3 separate regions of the Homo sapiens genome follow, and regions 1 and 3 are each linked to region 2. Evidence: promoter capture Hi-C in human tissues and cell types (Jung and others, 2019). All regions are on one chromosome and are shown on one strand. Each heading gives the region's core, a stretch centred on a gene start or on the middle of the fragment in contact. The rest is flanking DNA. Distances are from core to core; before and after follow the strand shown. Region 1 has its middle 50 kb from the start of KCNIP4. Region 2 holds the start of KCNIP4 (potassium voltage-gated channel interacting protein 4). Region 3 overlaps KCNIP4 (potassium voltage-gated channel interacting protein 4).

Region 1 (2,700 bases), core at 163-2,662, 50 kb after region 2:
GCCTCCGCTACTGATACCCAGGCAAACAGGGTCTGGGGTGCACCTCCAACAAACTCTAAAAGACCTGCAGCTGAGGGTCCTGACTGTTAGAAGGAAAACTAACAAACAAAAAGGACATCCACACCAAAACCCCATCTGTACATCACCATCATCAAAGACCAAAGGTAGATAAAACCACAAAGATGGGGAAAAAACAGAGCAGAAAAGCTGAAAATTCTAAAAATCACAGCGCCTCTCCTCCTCCAAAGGAACGCAGCTCCTCACCACCAATGGAACAAAGCTGGATGGAGAATGACTTTGAGGAGTTGAGAGAAGAAGGCTTCAGACGATCAAACTTCTCTGAGCTAAAGGAGGAAGTTGGAACCCATCACAAAGAAGCTAAAAACCTTGAAAAAAGATTAGATGAATGGCTAACTAGAATAACCAATGTAGAGAAGTCCTTAAATGACCTGAAGGAGCTGAAAAACATGGCATGAGAACTACATGATGAATGCACAAGCTTCAGTAGCTGATTTGACCAACTGGAGGAAAGGGTATCAGTGATTGAAGATCAAATGAATGAAATGAAGCGAGAAGAGAAGTTTAGAGAAAAAAGAGTAAAAAGAAATGAACAAAGCCTCCAAGAAATATGGGACTAAGTGAAAAGACCAAATCTACATCTGATTGGTGTACCTGAAAGTGACAGGGAGAATGGAACCAAGTTGGAAAACACTCTGCAGGATATTATCCAGGAGAACTTCCCCAACCTAGCAAGGCAGGCCAACATTCAAATTCAGGAAATTCAGAGAACACCTCAAAGATACTCCTCGAGAAGAGCAACTCCAAGACACATAATTGTCAGATTCACTAAGGTTGAAATGAAGGAAAAAATATTAAGGGCAGCCAGAGAGAAAGGTCGGATTACCCACAAAGGGAAGCCCATCAGACTAACAGCGGATATCTCAGCAGAAACTCTACAAGCCAGAAGACAGTGAGGGCCAATATTCAACATTCTTAAAGGAAAGAATTTTCAACCAAGAATTTCATATCCAGCCAAACTAAGCTTCACAAGTGAAGGTGAAATAAAATCCTTTACAGAGAAGCAAATGCTGAGAGATTTTGTCACCACCAGGCCTGCCCTCAAAGAGCTCCTGAAGGAAGCACTAAACATGGAAAGGAACAACCGGTACTGGCCACTGCAAAAACATGCCAAATTGTAAAGACCATTGATGCTAGGAAGACATTGCATCAACTAACGAACAAAATAACCAGCTAACATCATAATGACAGGATCAAATTCACACATAACAATATTAACCTTAAATGTAAATGGGCTAAATGCTCCAATTAAAAGACACAGACTGGCAAATTGGATAAAGAGTCAAGACGCATCAGTGTGCTGTATTCAGGAGACCCATCTCACGTGCAGAGACACAAATAGGCTCAAAATAAAGGGATGGAGGAATATCAACCAAGACAATGGAAAACAAAAAAAGGTAGGGTTTGCAATCCTAGTCTCTGATGAAATAGATTTTAAACCAACAAAGATCAAAAGAGAAAAAGAAGGCTGCTACATAATGGTAAAAGTATCAATTCAACAAGAAGAGCTAACTATCCTAAATATATATGCACCCAATACAGGAGCTCCCAGATTCATAAAGCAAGTCCTTAGACACCTACAAAGAGACTTAGACTCCCACACAATAATGACGGGAGACTTTAACACCCCACTGTCAACATTAGACATATCAACAAGACAGAAAGTTAACAAGGATATCCAGGAATTTAACTCAGCTCTGCACCAAGTGGACCTAATAGACATCTACAGAACTCTCCACCCCAAGTCAACAGAATATACATTGTTCTCAGCACCACATCACACTAATTCCAAAATTGACCACATAGTTGGAAGTAAAGCACTCCTCACCAAATGCAAAAGAACAGAAATTATAACAAACTGTCTCTCAGACCACAGTGCAATCAAACTAGAACTCAGGATTAAGAAACGCACTCAAAACCGCTCAACTACATGGAAACTGAAAAACCTGCTCCTGAATGACTACTAAGTACATAATGAAATGAAGGCAGAAATAAAGATGTTCTTTGAAACCAATGACAACAAACACACAACATACCAGAATCGCTGGGACACATATAAAGCAGTGTGTAGAGGGAAATTTATAGCACTAAATGCCCACAAGAGAAAGCAGGGAAGATCTAAAATTGACACCCTAACATCACAATTAAAAGAACTAGAGAAGCAAGAGCAAACACATTCAAAAGCTAGCAGAAGGCAAGAAATAACTAAGATCAGAGCAGAACTGAAGGAGATAGAGACACAAAAAACCCTTCAAAAAAATCAGTGAATCCAGGAGCTGGTTTTTTGAAAGGATCAACAAAATTGATAGACTGCTAGCAAGACTAATAAAGAAGAAAAGAGAGGAGAATCAAATAGACGCAATAAAAAATGATAAAGGGGATATCACCACCGATCCCACAGAAATACAAACTACCATCAGAGAATACTACAAACACCTCTATGCAAATAAACTAGAAAATCTAGAAGCAATTCCTGGAACATACACCCTCCCAAGACTAAACCAAGAAGAAGTTGAATCCCTGAATAGCGCAATAACAGGCTATGAAATTGAGGCAATAATTAATAGCTTACCAACCAAAAAAAGTCCAGGACCAGACGGATTCATAGCCAAATTATACCAG
Region 2 (2,700 bases), core at 15-2,514:
AAGGGAGGGTGTCCATTTCCATTTCTCATGGCCATAAATTCGAATGATTGACTCAAGTTGTTGAGGTGACTCCATTTCCCTGAGTACTAAAGAAGGCAGCAAGTGGAAACACCTCTTTGCTTGCAAGTTTACAGCCCTCGAGTCCAAGTTTTTCACCCTCTAAACCCAAACTATGCTATAGCCATATGTGACCCCTTAGCTTATGTAATCAGGGAGAGGTCCAGCCCTTTATCACTCTCATGTGCCCCAAAATCACTTCCATTCTCTTTCCGGCTCCTGTAAAATACTCTGTACACATCAAAACCACCTAATAACAAATCGATGCAACCCAAGACGCTTTGTGGAAGGGCATCGTCTCCTATTTCTCTATGGATCCCACCAAACAGCAAAACATTTCTCCCTGCTTTCGCAGAACGCACGTTTCTCTGAAAGCCAAGCTCCTAACACAGTGCCCGATACCTTAACAAGGCTGTACTGTATATAAATTATTTGCAAGTGTCACTGAGGACCATTTTCTCTGAACACACTAAACTGAAGCTAGCCATAAAACAAGCCATACGCTCCTGCTTTAGAATCTGACATGGGCAAGATGCCGCCAGTATATTACCAGGGGACAAAAATACAGTTGTAATGAAGAAACGTGTGGGGGCATGAAGGAAAAGTGGAAGGCGAGGATCAATACTATTTCAGCTCATTAATCCCCAGGTGTTAGGGGAAGGAAGCGTGCGGTCTGGAGTCATCTGGCAGATGCATAAACAACCTCGGAAATTTTCAGAGAAGGCAAAAGTACGCACAGGATCGCAGGGGACCCTGCCACCGGCGAGTTTCAAACACACTTCAAACATCTTTTCTTCCCCGACCTGGATCTTGCATGCACCCCCCTCTCCTTTGCACCCCATTCCTGCCGCTCCCACCTCCCCTTCCCAGTCCCGCCAGGTGACTGTGTCTCATGCAGCGAAGGCAACAAGCGTCCCCAGCCGAGGAAGGGAAGGGGCAGCCGTCTTGGCTCGCGAGGGAAGGAGGGCGGAAGCGGGCGCCCGCTCGCAAGCTTATTGCATCCTACCGCCTGTAGAGCTGGCCTCCTCCAGCTGAGCCGAAATGCTTTCCACCCTCCTCACATTCATGTCTAGGGACGCAGGGTGCAGAAGCGAGACTCGAGAGTCCACCGGCCAGGGGCGTCTGTCCACGGGTCTGCACGGGAGCGCACCGCCGCTCGGCCCGGGGGCGTCCGTGGCGCTGGGAGCGAGAGCTTCGGCGGCGGCTGCGGGCAGGGCGCGCGGAGCGGGCTGCAGGTGCGGGCGGAGGCCGGCGGGGGGCGCCGGGGGCGCTGCGCGGCCCTTGGCGGCGGGGGCGCGCGGGGTGGCGGGGGAGGCCGAGGCGCCGGCAGCTTCGCGCCGGCGGCTGGAAGCGGGCGGGCTGCACGGGCGGCTCGAGTGCGGGGACCCCAGCCCCTCGCCCTCGTGAGCGCCGCCCCTGCCACCTGCTGCCAAGTCACCGGACTGGGGATGCGGGGGGCGGGGTGCGGGGAGAGGAAAGCGCCGCGGGTGGCACGGTGCCTCTGGCGACAGAGTAGATGGACCCGAAAGAGACCCGAGGTGACTTCGGGCTGGGCAGGACACCCCCGGGAGTTGCCAGCGGCTCTCAGCGGGCGCCTCTAGGACCCCTTGTCACTGCGAGCAGCGCCTGCTCTGGGGAGGGGCTCGAAGGCGCCGCGCCTTCTCAACGCGCCGCTGCGTCCCCCAGGGGCTCCAACTTGGACAGCTAGACTGGAAATACTGCTGCACAAAGTTAGGCTGAGTTCGAAGGACACCAGAGAGGAAGCGCAAGGAGATGCCCTTCTCCGGAGCCGGGCAGAGCGCCAGAACTCCTAGACGGGAAACTTTCCCCCATTGAAGCTAGAACCGGTCATGCGACTCGGCTAAGTGTGGGGAAACACTGGCTCTAGACTCCAGGTGAACATCGCAGGGCCGAGGTGCAGAATACCACCTTGGAGAGAGGGGGTGGCATAGACTGGTGGCATTTTGGAGAAGCATCCATGTGGGGGGTTTCATTTGAGATCTCCCAGGCAGGTCAACCAGGAGGTATCGCTCACCACCCGCAAGGTCATTTGCCCTTCTAAAGCACAGTAAGGCCGGGAATAGTTGGGAAGGTAAAGAGAAACCAATAGACCACTTGTGGCCATGGTTACTGTTTGAGAAGTCAAAATTAAAATGCAGATTTCTGTGTCCCCAAGAGTCAAGTGCATGAAGCCTCTCTTTTCAGAAGAAAGGTCAAGTTGACCCGTTCTCCAGGCAAACTGAATTAAAATTCCCTCTCACTCTCAGCTGCAAGGTCAGTTGGCCATGACTTGGGTGGAAGCCATTTCTAAGTGTTTGTGAAACTATTTGCCTTCCCTATGGCTGCTGGATTATTTATACACACTGTCACCAAGTGAAATCTTCCCCCTTTCTCCAAGTAGGTCTCAATTGACACCTTATTGCCCTTCTCCCCACCCCCAAACGCACGAGCGATTTACTTAGTCCTTTGAGCCCTTGTAGCATGTATTTGTATATTTCTTGAGAGCCTTTTACTCTTTTAGTTCATTGTTAAGGAGACAGATGCTGACACCCCATTGTCTGGGTTCAAATCCTAGTTCCACTACTTCATAATCCTGTGGCCTGGTACAAATATCAGCTATAACTGGTACCTACATTATTGTTT
Region 3 (2,700 bases), core at 196-2,695, 42 kb before region 2:
TTTTTTTATTCTATTATTATTATACTTTAAGTTTTAGGGTACATGTGCACAACATGCAGGTTTGTTACATATGTATACATGTGCCATGTTGGTGTGGCACATATACACCATGGAATACTATGCAGCCATAAAAAATGATGAGTTCATGTCCTTTGTAGGGACATGGATGAAACTGGAAACCATCATTCTCAGCAAACTATCGCAAGGACAAAAAACCAAACACCGGATGTTCTCACTCATAGGCTATCACTTCCTTCGGGCTCTCCTTTCTTTCAAAAAGCCTTCTGCCAAATCTACCATGTGACCAGCATGTGTGCACATCTTCTGTGTACGCTTCAAAAGTGCAGGTGTCACAAATAAATGAGTTCACAATTTAGGATGCTGTTAGTAGATTCCTGACTTTCTCTGAAAGTTAGAAGTGTATTATAAAAACAAAACTTACATCTATATGTAAGTTGACTGCATCAGACTCACCCCATGGGCATTAGAGTGTGACATTAGTAGTGAGCCATCAGTAATGTCCCAATAGATCCCACTGACTTGCCACACGTAACACTTGTTTGCATAGACCACAGGACTGCAAACTTCAGCAGCCACTCACTCCCAGTCAAATCCAGGCCCTCATCTCTTTTCCAAATAAAGTGTTATTGAAACACAGCTACATTCATTTGTTTCATTCATCTATGAGTGTTTCAGGCTACAGTGGCAATGTTAAGTGGCAGAAACTATATGACCCACAAATCCTAAAATATTTACTACCTAGTTGTGGTAATGTGATAATGACTCCCAAAGTCATTGCTATGTTCTAACTTGTGAGTGTTACCTTATTTGGGAAGAGTCTTTGCAGGTGTAATAAATAAGTTAAGGATCCTGAGGTGAGATCATTCTGGTGTATCTGGGTAAGCCCCAAATTACAGCAAAAGTGTCCTTGTCTAAGACAGGTAGAGGGAGATTAGACACACTCAGAGGAGGAAAAGCGAACGTGAAGATAGAAGCAGAGATTGGCGTGATGTAGCCACAAGCCAAGGAATGTCAAGACATGTTGGCAGCCACCAGACTCTGGAAGAGGCAAGGAAGTGTTCTCCCCCACAGCCTGCCAGGGAGGATCCTGGCCCTTCAGAGCCCATGCTGGCACCTTGATTTTGGACTTTTGGCTTCCAGAACTGTGAGAGAATAAATTTCTGTCTGTTAGAAGCCACAAAGTTCAGGGTAATTTATTACAGTGGTCCCAGGACATTAATACTCTGGCCTTTTATAGAAAAAGTTTTCTGCAACAGGCAAAACCTGTACCAATTAATGCATGTATCTACTGCCCAACATAAGGAAGAAAATCTTTACACACCTATAAAAGCTATCTGCATACCCTGCCCTGATAACATCTAAATGTGATATTTACCAAGCCTGTGTACATCTTTTTACATACATCAATAAGGTATGCATCCAAAGCAAAACAGTATCATTTAGAATATGTTACATTTTACATAAAAGGTATATTTTTATGTAAGCTTCTAAAAGTTGCTTTTCTAGCTCACTATAATATTTTTAAGATTTATCCACTTTGATACACGAAGCTTTAGTTTCTCTCAATGTTTTAGTATATCACAATTCCTTTATTTACTCTCCTATGGATGGACACTAAAGTATTTCTCATTCTCATTATGATGAAGACTACTGCTATACTTTGAGTGTGTCCCCCACAATTCACGTGCTGGAAATGGGGTTCTTGGAGTGGCAATGTTGGCTGGTGGGTTGTTGAGAGGTGATTAGGGCATTAAGAGGAATTAATGTCACTCTTGAGGGACTGGGTTAATTCTCAGAGCAGTAAGTGAATGAGTTCTCGCTCTTGCAGGACTAACTCCGTTACTGAAAAGAGTGGGTTGCTATAAAGCAAGGCCGCCCCTCACACGTTGTCTCTTTCACACACACTAGCTTGGTCTTCCGCTTTTCCACCATGTTATGAGGCAGTACGAAAGCCTTCACCAGAAGCTGCCACCATGTTCTTGGACTTTCTAGCCTCCAGAACTACTAGCCAAAATAAACCTTTTTATTGCTACAAATTATCCAGCCTCAGGTATTCTGTTACAGAAACAGAAAACAGAGGAAGACAAGTACTATTATGTACTTTCTTATATACGTCTCTTATGCACAATTGTAAAAATAACTCCAGGATTTTTATTTAGAAATGAACTTTATGGGGAATGTGTCTCTTCAGCTTTATGATGTCAATTGCCTTTGAAACGAATTCAATAAATTACACTGCAATCAGTAGTGTTTCTGTGTTCCTGTTTCCCCAATCCTCACCAACCCTTGACATAAGCAGATTTTTAAATATTTTTTCCATGTGTATGAAGTAAGCATCTGCTCTTTAGAGTAAAGCTTGCCTTAGTACACAATAATAATGTTTTATAAATGTTAACTCCCCAACTTCATACTCACAGTGGAAATAAGGAAGCAAGTTTATGATAGAAAAAATACCAAAAATAATAACAAAAGAATTTTTAAAGACATAGTTTAAATTGTATCTGGTATACAGTTGAAGAATCGGCAAAAACACATTGGATTCACTGTGTGGGACTTTACGTCAACCATTTTAACTCTTGTGCAAACTTTTTTTGTTCATTAAATGGGAGGTTACTCTCTCTGTGGCCCCTTCCTGCTCCAAAAGTCTCTGCCTGTAATAAAAAATAATAAAAATAAATA

Evidence for each region. Contacts are between HindIII fragments. The study calls those that stand out against the background at their distance.
Region 1: a contact is called between a fragment that was not itself captured here and the fragment with the promoter of KCNIP4 in region 2, in 4 of the 25 tissues and cell types used here (dorsolateral prefrontal cortex, liver, pancreas and 1 more).
Region 3: a fragment that was not itself captured here is called in contact with the fragment with the promoter of KCNIP4 in region 2 in 3 of the 25 tissues and cell types used here (aorta, dorsolateral prefrontal cortex and mesendoderm cells).

What each region holds. Positions count from the first base shown.
Region 1 is chr4:21,997,488-22,000,187 of GRCh38, forward strand. No RefSeq gene overlaps it. Among named protein-coding and RNA genes, the nearest start is that of KCNIP4, 50 kb to the left of the region's middle. The HindIII fragment of the contact is 4,171 bases long and covers 1-2,700 here.
Region 2 is chr4:21,947,508-21,950,207 of GRCh38, forward strand. KCNIP4 (potassium voltage-gated channel interacting protein 4) reads right to left here and starts at 1,265. Exons shown (of 9, transcript NM_025221.6): 1 at 1,064-1,265. The coding sequence starts at 1,124. RefSeq lists enhancers at 1,212-1,712, 1,713-2,213. The HindIII fragment of the contact is 8,414 bases long and covers 1-2,700 here.
Region 3 is chr4:21,905,400-21,908,099 of GRCh38, forward strand. The region is part of intron 1 of KCNIP4 (potassium voltage-gated channel interacting protein 4); the gene reads right to left. Among named protein-coding and RNA genes, the nearest start is that of KCNIP4, 42 kb to the right of the region's middle. The HindIII fragment of the contact is 3,286 bases long and covers 1-2,700 here.